2 separate regions of the Homo sapiens genome follow, and region 1 is linked to region 2. The links are contacts of gene promoters, found by promoter capture Hi-C in blood cells and fetal thymus (Javierre and others, 2016). All regions are on one chromosome and are shown on one strand. Each heading gives the region's core, a stretch centred on a gene start or on the middle of the fragment in contact. The rest is flanking DNA. Distances are from core to core; before and after follow the strand shown. Region 1 holds the start of ASTL (astacin like metalloendopeptidase). Region 2 overlaps KANSL3 (KAT8 regulatory NSL complex subunit 3).

What was found. The method cuts DNA at HindIII sites, captures the fragments that hold promoters and counts their contacts. A CHiCAGO score of 5 or more calls a contact.
Region 1: a contact is called between the fragment with the promoter of ASTL here and a fragment that was not itself captured in region 2, in 1 of 17 cell types (total CD8 T cells). The highest score is 7.8, in total CD8 T cells.

What each region holds. Positions count from the first base shown.
Region 1 is chr2:96,136,192-96,142,368 of GRCh38, reverse strand. It overlaps ASTL (astacin like metalloendopeptidase), which reads left to right and starts at 3,867. Exons shown (of 9, transcript NM_001002036.4): 1 at 3,867-3,987; 2 at 4,669-4,794. The coding sequence starts at 3,933. RefSeq lists silencers at 830-879, 940-989, 2,963-3,052 and an enhancer at 3,943-4,012. The HindIII fragment of the contact is 4,955 bases long and covers 3,310-6,177 here.
Region 2 is chr2:96,589,453-96,595,632 of GRCh38, reverse strand. It overlaps KANSL3 (KAT8 regulatory NSL complex subunit 3), which reads left to right. Exons shown (of 21, transcript NM_001115016.3): 21 at 2-2,461. The coding sequence ends at 22. Among named protein-coding and RNA genes, the nearest start is that of KANSL3, 46 kb to the left of the region's middle. The HindIII fragment of the contact is 317 bases long and covers 1,866-2,182 here.

The DNA of each region.
Region 1 (6,177 bases), core at 2,618-5,117, 460 kb after region 2:
TGCGGGAGCCAGTCCTGCTTCAGGCTCACTGGGACACTCGGCCATTTGGAGTGTCATCCAGCCAAGGGTTGTCTCTGCACAGTGCTACCTCTAAGGATCTGTCCGTGGTCTGTTAGGAACTGGGCTGCACAGCCGGAGGTGAGCAGCTTCATCAGTATTACAGCCGCACCCCATTGCTAGCATTACTGCCTGAGCTCCGCCTCCTATCAGATCAGCGGTGGCATTAGATTCTCATAGGAGCTTGAACCCTGTTGTGAACTGCATTGGAGGGATATAGGATGTATGCTCCTTATGAAACTCTAACTAATGCCTGATGATCTGTCACTGTCTCCCATCACTCCCAGATGGGACCGTCTAGTCTCAGGAAAACAAGCTCTGGGCTCCCACTGATTCTACATTATGGTGAGTTGTATAAAATTATTTCATTGTAGATTACAATGTAATGATAGAAATAAAGTGCACAATAAATGTAATGCACTTGAATCACCTAGAAACCATCCCCCTCACCATCCTGGGCCAGGCATGGTGGCTTATGCCTCTAATCCTAGCACTTTGGGAGGCCGAGATGGGTGGATCAACTGAGGTCAGGAGTTCGGGACCAGCCTGGCCAACATGGTGAAACCCCGCCTCTACTAAAAATACAAAAATTAGCCAGGCATGGTGGCGGGCGCCTGTTATCCCAGCTACTTGGGAGTCTGAGGCAGGAGAATTGCTTGAACCTGGGAGGTGGAGGTTGCAGTGAGCCAAGATTGCGCCATTGCACTCCAGCCTGAGCATCAAGAGTGAAACTCCATCTCAAACAGAGGAACAAACAAAAACCGGTCCCTGGTGCCACAAAGGTTGGGAACTGCTGTCTTACGGCATTCTGAATGCCTGGGAGGGTGTGCTTGTGGGGCAGGGCAGTGTAGTTTGACAGTCCGGGGGCTGGTTTTGCTTCACCTTGCTGTATACAGTTTTCTTGTCTGTAAAATGGAGTTTCATTGTTAGCCCCCACCTCTGAGGATGTAGACTTACACAAGTCAATCCATGTAGTGCCTGCTCATAGTAGGCGCTCCGAAAATGTTAGCTAACTACGGCCCTAGGAGTGAGGTTGATCTGATGTGCCGGTGTGCACATGCGAGGTGTGCATCTGGACCAGGATGGACACTCATAACGGCTGGGCCTGGGGTCCACTCAGCCTTGTGCCTGGAGCCTGGCACAGGTGGGCGCTCACTCTGTGAGGCCGAATGAAGGGTGATTCTTGTTCCCACTGCTGTCTGAGGGGTGGGGTGAGCCACTCCAGTGTGAACTGGGCAGAGCCGGGGTTGCTATTCTGCCTTCCTTAGGAGCTGAGTAGGCATCTGTTGGGACCCACTTGTACCCCCATGCCCAGCTTGGGTGGGTGGGGGACATCTGGGGCTCTAAGTCATAGGGGACTTCACACCACACAGCCTCATCTCACACACAGCTGCACTGGTGGCTGAGGCCTCTGCCCACCCCCCACCCTTGGCCCTACCCCATCCCACCCTACCCAGCCCCAATCCCCTCTCCTTCCTTCCCCGTGCTTTTTATAGCTTGTCATCTAGCAAACTGCCCTTCTCTTTCTCTCTCTTTTCCTCCTTTCCTTCTTTCCTATTTATTAAATTTTTAAACTTTTAATTGTGGTAAAAAATGCAACATAAAATTGGTCATCTTTACCATTATCAAGTGTTTAGTAAAGTGTATTCACATCGTTGTGCACAGATATCCAGAGCTTTTTCATCTTGCGAACCTGAAATCCTATACCTATTAAATGATAACTCCCCTCCCCAGTCCCCAGCCCCTTGTGAGCTCCGTTCCACTTTCCGTCCCTGTGCACTGGGCTACTCTAGACACCTCTTGGAGGTAGAAGCATGCAGGATTTGTCTTTTTGTGACTGGCTTGTTTCGCTCAGCAAAATATCCTCAGACCAACTGCATGTCCTAATAAAGACTCTGTTTCTCTCCCCAAGCAGGGTGATTATTTCTTATCATTATTTTAATTCTTTTGTTTTTTGAGACAGAGTCTCACTCTGTTGCCCAGGCTGGAGTGCAGTGGCACAATCTTGGCTCACTGCAACCTCTGCCTCCTGAGTTCAAGGGATTTCTGGCTAATTTTTGTATTTTTAGTAGAGATGGGGTTTCACCGTGTTGGCTAGGCTGGTCTCGAACTCCTGACCTCAAGTAATCTGCCTGCCTTGGCCTCCCAAAATGCTGGGATTACAGGCATGAGCCACTGCGCCCGGTCTACTTTATTTTTTTTTACTGAACATTCATCTTTTTTTTTGAGATGGAGTCTCACTCTGTCCCCCGGGCTAGAGTGCAGTGGCGCGATTTTGGCTCATTGCAAACTCCACCTCTGGGTTCAAGTGATTCACCTGCCTCAGCCTCCCGAGTAGGTGGGATTACAGGTGCCCGCCACCGTGCCCAGCTAATTTTTGTATTCTTTTAGTAGAGATGGGGTTTCACCATGGTGGCCAGTCTGGTCTTGAATTCCTGACCTCGTGATCCACCTGCCTTGGCCTCCCAAAGTGCTGGGATTATAGGCGTGAGCCACCGCGCCCTCCTGAACACTCATCTTAAGTGGTCAGCCTTGTGCATTTGTTTTTTGATGGGTCCTATTCTTTATTTTACTTATTTTTTCTAGGTTTACTGAGGCATAATCGACAAATAAAAGTAGTATATGTTTAAGTATACAACGTGATGTTTTGACATATGCATACCTTGTGAAATGATGACCACAACAAGCTAACTAGCATATCCATGGTGTGTATCCTGACATCTGTCAATACCCTGCCCTGGCAGCAGGGCGTCTGCCTCCATCATGGTCTCCCTGTGATTCTGATTCCTATCTTTGGAGAAGCTCTGGATTCCAGGCACAGTGGGAATGCTGAAAGGTCCTTGTGGACAATAGCTATTCTTCTTGGCTCTGTCGCTTCCCTTCACTGGGTGCAGGTGACTGTGGGGGTGTCCCCAAATGCTGCCCAGCGCTGACATGCTCCGCCTCTGGGATTTCAATCCAGGTGGGGCCCTGAGTGACCTGGCTCTGGGGCTCAGGGGTATGGAGGAGGGGGGATATAGGTAAGGAGTTTAAATTTCCAAATCTGTGAAATGGGAATAAATACTGACTGATCATGCCAGCTGCTGTGGGATTAGGGGGTGGACTCCCTGCGAGGCTCTGGGCATCTGGGGGTTCCACCTTTCCCACATGGCAGGCTTTCTAGGGTGCTGCACACTGTTCAGTTTGTGAAATTTCCTGGAGCCCTGTGCTTGTGATAGTGAACTTTTCTATATGTGTACTAAAATAAAAGCTTGTGAAAGTGCAGTGACCTTTTCCTCCTTCCGGAGATACACGGGGGGCGCCCCAGGGTCTCAGGCAGCTTTCCCCATGTCTAAGCACAGGCCGGGGTAGGAAAGGGGGTCTCCCTCGCTGGAGGAATAGGTCTATACCTGGGCTGGGGCCTCAGCTAGGCCTGGAGCAACTTTCTGCGATGTTTCTCTGCCCCCTGGAGGCAGGAAGGAACCTCAGAAGAGCCACACTCCCAAGCGGGCCCCTCCTGTCTTTCACCTGCTACAGCCAGGAAGGGGACTGGGCTGGGGTGGGAACCACAGGTAGGCATCGGAGGGGCTGCCAGTAGACCTGGTTTGGGTGGCGCTGCCGGTAGAGCTGGTTGGGGCGGGGCTGCAGGTGGAGCTGGTTGGGGCGGGGCTGCAGGTGGAGGTGGTTGGGGCGGGGCTGCAGGTGGAGATGGTTGGGGCGGGGCTGCAGGTGGAGGTGGTTGGGGCGGGGCTGCAGGTGGAGGCGGTTGAGGGGAGCAAGGTGGGAGGTGGAGCAGCTGCTATTTAAGAGGGGGTGGTGGTGCCGGTTCTGCAATTAGGTTACTGTGTCTTGCTGGGGCTTGGTCTTGTTTGCTGAAGGGGCAGCAGGGCTCTACCATGGAGGGTGTAGGGGGTCTCTGGCCTTGGGTGCTGGGTCTGCTCTCCTTGCCAGGTAAGCTGGCTGCCTGTCCCTCCTGCTGCTGGCTCCAGCCTGGAGAAAGCTGGGGAGAGGCTAGAAGGTTGTGGCTGGAGCCTGCAGGGATTGTAGCTGAGCTCAGTAGCTCAGAGCACAGAGCTCTCCAGGGTTATTCTAGAAGTCAGCTCCTGGGGGGCCAAGGGGAGGCCTCCTGAAGGCCCTGGAAGCAGAGGGCCTGCCTGGCAGAAGATAAGTGTTGTGCCCCAGGCCTACTTGTCTTGGGGTGGGGGTAGGCTGTAAGTCCCCACTCCAGCCTGGTCAGGCAGGGAGTCATCCAGGCTGAGCCCATTGTCCAAGAGCCTGGGCTGAGAGAGAGTCATAAGGTGGGGTCTGAGGCTGGCCCTGCCCGTCACGGGCGTCAGAACCCGAGGTCTGTCCTGCCTCCTTCCTTCCTGCCCCTCCTCTACCTCATAGGTGGGGCACATGGTCCCTTTTGGTCCCCCTAAGGGAGCTCCTTCCCTGAGGTCATCTAGACCTTGGCACCAGTTGGGGTTGAGCAGGGAGGCTGGGAAGGCTCCTTGGCTTTGTGCTGGAGCCTACTCTTCCTAGGGACTGAGTCTTACCGTCTGATCCCCCACACCCACCCCATGTCCTGCTGTCTGGTCTCACCGGTGGGTGCTCCAGGCATCTGTGTATGCCCCTGTCTGTCTGGACCAGGTGTGATCCTAGGAGCGCCCCTGGCCTCCAGCTGCGCAGGAGCCTGTGGTACCAGCTTCCCAGATGGCCTCACCCCTGAGGGAACCCAGGCCTCCGGGGACAAGGACATTCCTGCAATTAACCAAGGTGAGGGCACTACATCTTCTCACGGCCTGGAGGGGCACGACGTTATGTAGTGTGAAAACCACACCGAACACTCAGAAATGCAGAGCCTGGGAGGAAATGGACCAGCTTACTCTGGGCTCTAAGTGGTTTTTAAGAGATGGAGTGGTGTTGCTATATTGCCCCGGCTGGTCTTGAACTCCTGGCCTTAAGTGATCTTCCTGCCTCTGCCTCCCGAGCAGCTGGGACTACAGGTGTGAATGGGTGGAAATTCTATGGGCAATTGCTTAAGTCTACTCTTTCTTTTTGTATCTTTCTTAGTGGATTGTTACTTTTATAAGAAAAACCAAGCTCTTAAAGGGCCTGGGCGTGGAGCTAAGCGGTTAGTCGCAGTCTGAGATTGTCAGCCACCCTGTGCAGGACTGTCTGCAGGTGTGATTAAGAAGTCTGAAGCTCAGCTGGGTGCGGTGGCTCTCGCCTGTAGTCCCAGCACTTTGGGAGGCTGAGGCGGGCAGATCATGAGGTCAGGAGATCGAGACCATCCTGGCTAACACAGTGAAACCCCGTCCCCACCAAAAATACAAAAATTAGCCGGGCGTGGTGGCGGGCGCCTGTAGTCCCAGCTACTCAGGAGGCTGAGGCAGGAGAATGGCATGAACCTGGGAGGCGGAGCTTGCAGTGAGCTGAGATTGCGCCACTGCACTCCAGCCTGGGCGACAGAGCATCTCACAAAAAACAAAAAACAAAAGTCAGGCTCAGGGCCTTGCTGTCTGGGGATGTCAGCTGAGGAATGAGGGTGTATAAATAGCCTGAACAAAGCCAGTTGAAATGGAGACTGGAGTTCAGATGTTGGAGCAATGAGGGCTGAAGCACTCAGGGTTGAAGCAATCGGGCTGAACAGGGGACAACCTTGCCCTAAGGGTGGGTGAGATCCTACCAGATGTGGTAGCCACTGTGTGATCTGCCCCCTTCTTCCTCTGTGAGCTGACTTGGGAGCCCAGCGCCAGCTGAGCCTTGAGCCCCAGGCACCATCCCACCCCTGGATCACCGTGAGTGGTCTGCAGGTAACCAGAACCAATGGAGAAAACTCCCAAATGCTGGTGACCCCAACAACTATCCTATCACCTACGGTGAGGCTGTCTCATAAGGGCTGCCCGTGCCTTACCCAGTGCTTTCCTGGGAAGCACCTGCCCATCTCCAGCCACTGTGAATATGGCTAATGCTGCACAGCTGTCTGCCTCCCAAAACTGGCCCTTGGCCAGAAGGAGCTGCCTCAGCCAGAGATGCCCGGGGGCTACTCCCTTGTCTGCCCAAGGTGGCCTACTGTGACTTCTAAGGGACAGGAGTCTGGCTCCTGCCTAAAGGTGGTACAAGTCAGCGGTGTCATTTGTGGTCTGGAGCGCCCAT
Region 2 (6,180 bases), core at 775-3,274:
GCGCCTGCCTCCAGCACCCTGAAGATGCTGTGTGATATGTCCTCCTTACCAAGTTGGTGATGGCTGCCTCATGGTGGGCCCTGGACAGGTGTGTGGTCCTGCTGAGCTGTCCACGTGTCGGAAGACCTGTTTAAGACAGTCATTTTTGCCTCTCCGCCAACTGTCTTCAGAGAAACCATTAGGTTAGGTGATACGGTGCCAGCAAGGGAAGCACCATCGTCCAGGATCTGCAAATCTGGTTCCTGGGAACCCCAGACTCCTCAGCAGATCTGGCTGTACATGGATCAGAACCACTTCTTCCCCCGCTTAAGCTGTGGTTTGACCCAAGGGTCAGCATATAGGACTGCCTGCTGCATTTAATGAAGGTGTTTCCTTTTGGAAGTCTGTGCTACCCTCTGCGCCTAGTTGGGAGGAGACATCCATCTGGTCTGGGATTTCGGGAGTTAGAATGGAAAGCTCTTTGCTAAAGACTGGAGTCATCCTGGCCTGCCAACTGGTGGTTCAGAGCCGGACGGGCTTGTTTTGGACATCACTGTTGCCTTCACTCAGCAGCCACGGGAGAGTGCTCCCCATGCAACTCCACCTTAGAAACCACGTCAGATACTGAGTAGCTTGCTGACTCCTGGAAACTTCTGGTTTTTGTTAGTATCATAATGAAGGCAAAGAGAACTAGGCTGTCATCTTTCAGCCTCTTTGACTTACTCTAGATGTTGGGAGCAGTGGTTGCCAGGTGAAACCTGGGCCCTTTGTCTTTTTCACCATGCTTTGGGCAGTTTCTGTATCCAGAGAGTCCGCAGGTTCAGATAAGCTGAAGAAGAGTAATAGAACAGCAAAGGAAGTGGCTTGAAGGATGTGCTAGTAAGCCCTGTGGTTTGTGCTTAGGTCTCTGCTCTGCTACCCAAGGAACTGGTGGTTCAGCTGGAGATAAAAAGAAGAATTTGCCAAGTCAGAGAAGAAACCCCAACCCCGGAAAATCCTCTGTCTCCAGTCTCTGGAGGTGAAGCAGGGACAATAAGCTAAGGTAGTATCTTGGCCATCCCAGGAAACTTGTGGCATTAGGACGATGAAGGCCATGCTTCAGTGTTTTCGTTTCTATTTCATGAGACTTTTTGTCTTCCTGCTTACAAGTGGGAAGATGATTGACAGTGACTCTACTATGCAGGGCTGTTGGTACCAACCTGAGCCCTATAGGTGGCAGTCCCTGGAGAAGTGGTCACAGAAGATGGAGCTCTGATCCCCTGCTTACCTCTTCACAACACTTGTGTGCAAAGATAGTTTTAGATTTGGTTTAGAAGCTATCCTCCAGAACAGGCTCCCATACTTAGAATGTTTCTAGTTAAGGTAATAAATTAGGCAACCCAAGTGTGACTCCACTCAAGTGTCCTTTTCTGTAGGCAGGAAGGGCCCACAACATGGCTTAAAATGTAGTCCATGGTTCTGGCCCACAGTACAGTGTGTATCTATACCAGGTCACCTGTGTTCAATCTGGGAGCCTTCCTGGCCAGTCTGAGTGGCAGCCAGAAGGGAGCTCATAGTGTCTAGGAGTCTCAGGCAAGGTAGGTCAGGGTACTGTGGGCAGGGGGGATGTGTGTGATAGGAGAGGGTACCCTAAACCCCATACCTTCCCTCCCTGACCTGAAAAGCTGATCTCAACAGGGATTCACACAGAATTAGGCTGTGTTTTTGCATTAGCTGGTAGGTGACTTTCTCAAAATTCTTAAATTCAGAAAGTATTTAGTAAACTTGAGGAAGGTATGAAATCTGGAGGAGGCATCCAGGACCCAGGGGTTTGATAGCTTTACAGGTAGGATCATACCACACCAAAAGAGCAGTGGACAATAAGACTATATGAGCTATATGAAGCTTTTAGGAATCATTTAGGACAGACAGAGCCCTAAACAACCCATTCATGACTTAAGTTGTTGGCTCAGTGTATGCTGGGGACAAAGAAAAACTAACAAGCCGACCTGCCTTTATGATAAATTCTAGTGTGCTTACAAGGGATGACTTCCTGAGGTGTGATCTGTCCACCTTGAAGAACTCCACAACTGAAGAAGGGGAGCTGTGAGAACGTGGATTGTTCTACAACTTGCACAGGGTAACAGAGGAAGTGGCTGAGGCCTAGAGTCACGTTTTCCAGTTCCCTTCGCAAACTATATTTCTTGGAACGCGAAAGGAAGCTTTACCTATTTCATAGAAGACCTGGAATCCATAACCTCAGAAGGCAATATTATTGATAGAAAATGTGGAAGGATCAGGAAGTTCTTAGATTCTTGGATGACAGATGCATGTTGATGCCCTATGGAGATGTCCTTGTGTTTTGAGGTCACTGAGGTAGGAAGACCTGTCTACTCTTGGTTTCACCACTAGAACAGTCTTGGGCTGGATGGGTTATAGAGCTGAGCGGCTGTGATGGTTCTGTTTTTACATTAACAAAAACAATTAAAAACACCAAAAACAACATTTGGATTGCTTCAGCTTCTTTTCAGTTGACTTCTCATATGTATTCTGGAAACCACCCAATGAAGTGGGCACCAAAGGTAGAGCTAAGATATTGTAAGGCCAGTGATCATCACCTCACCAATGCCAGGTGGTATGAGGGGGTACTGTAATTTCCTTTTTTTTTTTTCGAGATGGAGTCTCGCATTGTTATTTGGGCTGGAGTGCAATGGCGCGATCTTGGCTAACTGCAACTTCCGCCTCCTGTGTTCAAGCAATTCTCCTGCCTCAGCCTCCCAAGTAGCTGAGATTACAGGCGCCCGACACCACGCCCAGCTAATTTTTTGTGTTTTTAGTAGAGACAGGGTTCCACTATGTTGGCCAAGCTGGTCTCAAACTCCTGACCTTGTGATCCGCCCGCCTCAGCCTCCCAAAGTGCTGGGATTACAGGCGTGAGCCACCACACCCAGCCTGTAATTTCCTTTCTATAAGTGAGGAAACAGGCACAGAGCAGTCAAAACAGCAGGAAATGGCAGAAGCAGTACTGGAACCCAGACAGTCTGATGTCAGTGTCTTTTCTACTCTGCATTGTGCTAGGGTTCTAAGATGGGAGACTGGAGGTAGAGATTAACCCAGGAGGTGAGGAGATGGTGGCTTGGCCTGCACGTGACCTTTTCAGTTTACTTCCCACCAGGCCAAGAGTAATTGATGTTGATATGGTGGGGCTCTTGGCTGAGCCTACGTCAGTAGGTGGGGTCCCTCAACCTTGATCCTGAAAGATCAGTATCCTTTCGCACTTCCTATACCTCCACCCACCGCCAATAAATACATAAAGATTTAGAGATGAATGAATGAATTCCAACCTCTAGATTATTTGTTAACTTGTATTCAGGAGGACCTTCCTTCTAACCCCTAAATTCCAGGTCACTACCCTTGGCATTGGAGCCCTCTGGGTGGAGGCCATAGTTCTGGTATGCTGCTTGGAGTGTCCAGTATACCTGGGCACATCGTGTTACCCTCCTTAGTAGACATCTGGTTTGCTGTCTTCTCCCTCAAACTCTAGTCTCACTGACTTGAGCAGTCAGGTCAAGCGAGATGAGGATTAGATTGTTAAAATGACAGCTCTCTGAAACTTCAGGGGTATGGGGACAGGGCCATAGCAAATAATGATGCAGACAAGTCTTTTTTACCTTTTTATGTCTTTTTCAAGCACACATTTTGGTCAGGGTTGATGGCTGCAAGAAGGAGAAACCTATTCACCACCAAAATAGCTCTGAAAGGGAATATTCTCTCATTAGGCATTTTTATAGACAAGGAGCCTCACGGTTTTGGTACTTGCCTCGTGACCTCAAGTGGCTTGGACTTGCCGGGATCCAGTTTTGATCCTATTGTCACAGGACTTTTTAGCTGCAGAACCCTTTATGGATGGCTGGTCTCTTTCATTCAGTTCAAATTCTGAAGACAGCCTGATTGGCTCACTCTCACTTGTGGGTTGGTTCTCCTTATCTCTTCCCACCCAGTCCAATCATAGTATCCAGAAGATGAAGTCATGTGGTTCATATCATTACTTTTCTAAGGAGAAGTAGATGGATTTAAACAAAGCAAAACACTGCTGGACTGTTAGATATGTGTGTTTTTAACCTGCAATTGTAGTATAGTATAACACCCTTCACCAAGTTTCCCCAGTACTTACATCTCACTTAACTATAATACAAAATTAAAACCAGGAAGTTGGTACAATGTGTGTGTATAGTTCTATGTCATTTTATCGCTGTAACCATAAACAAAATACAGAATGGTTCCATCAGCACAAAGATCTCCCTCATGCCACCCCTTTATAGTTGCATCCATCTCCTTCCCCACCATTCCTGACCCTAGCAACCACTAATCTCTTCTACTTGTCCTAAATAGGTTGATGTATAAATAGAATCTTACAGTGCATGGCCTTTTGAGATTGTCTTGTTTTCATTCAATATCATTTCCTTGATACACATCCAAGTTGTTACGTGTATATGAGTAGTTCATTCCTTTTATTGCTGAGTGGTATTTCATGGTATGGGTTTAGCACAGTTTGTGTAACAATTCATTCACCTATTGAGGGACATCTAGTTTGTTCCCTGTTGGGGGCTATTACAGATAAAGCTACTGTGGCAATTGTGTGCAGTGGTTTTGTTTTGTTTTGTTTTGTTTTGTTTTGTTTTGTTTTTTGAGACGGAGTCTTGCTGTGTCGCCTAGGCTGGAGTGCAGTGGCACGATCTCAGCTCACTGCAACCTCCACCTCCCTGGTTCAAGCAATTCCCCTGCCTCAGCCTTCTGAGTAGCTGGGATTACAGGCACACACCACCAGGACCGGCTAATTTTTTTGTATTTTTAGTAGAGACAGGGTTTCACCATGTTGGCTAGACTGGTCTCAAACTCCTGACCTCAGGCAATCCTCCTGCCTCGGCCTCCCAAAGTGCTGGGATTACAGGTGTGAGCCACTGTGCCCAGCCAATTGTATGCAGTTTTTAAAATGAGAACATGAGTTTTCATTTCTCTCTGGTAAATAACCAGGAGTGTGATTACTAGGTCATATGTTAAGTTTTTAATTTTTTAGGAAACTGCCAGCCCAGCCTGATGGCTCACACCTGTAATCCCAGCACTTTGGGAGGCCAAGATGGTAGGATTGCTTGAGCTCAGGAGTTTGAAACCCCCTAGGCAACATAGATAGACCCTGCCTCTACAAAAATACAAATTAGCCGGGTGTCATGCCGCGCACCTGTAGTCCCGGCTACTTGGGAAGCTGAAATGGAAGGATTGCTTGAGCCTGGGAGGTCAAGGCTGCAGTGAGCTGTGATCGTGCCATGGTACTCAATCTGAGCAACAGAGTGAGACCTTGTTTCTAAAGAAAAAAAAAAAGAAACTGCCACTGTTTTTCAGAGTAGTTGTACTATTTTACATTCCTATCAGCAGTGTATGCGAGATTCATTTTCTCGGCATTCCTGCCAGCATTCTATATTGTCTCTTTTATTATTTATTTATTTTTATTTTATTTTTGGGAGACTGAGTCTCATTCTGTCGCCCAGGCTGGAGTGCAATGCGCAATCTTGGCTCACTGCAACCTCTGCCTCCCAGGTTCAAGCAATTCTGCCTCAGCCTCCCTAGTAGCTGGGATTACAGGCATCCACCACCACACCTGTCTAATTTTTTTTTTTTTTTTGTATTTTTAGTAGAGATGGGGTTTCACCACGTCGGCCAGGCTGGTCTTGAACTCCTGACCTCAGGTAATCCACCCGCCTCAGCCTCCCAAAGTGCTGGGATTACAGGTGTGAGCCACTGCGCCTGGCCTCTTTTATTTTTTATTTTAGCCATTCTAATAGGTGTGTAGTGGTATCTCATTGTGGTCTTTTAAATTTGTTGAGGTTTATGGCCCAGGGGTGATCTATCTTGGTATGTATTCTGTGGGTGCTTAAATGTGTTCTGCTGTAGGGTGGAGTGTTCCATAAATGTCGATAAAATTGTTGGCTGATGGTGTTGTCAGGTTCTTGTATATCCTTGCTGATTTTCTGTCAAGTTGTTCTGTCAACTGTAAAGAGTGGTGTTGAAATTTCCAACTATAATTGTGGAATTGTCTATGTCTCCTTTCAGTTCTGTCAGTTTTTATTACACATATTTTTCAGTTCTGTTATTTGGTACATACACTTTTAGGATTTCTGTGTCTTTTTGGTGGATTGACCCTTTTATCATTATGTAATGTCCCTC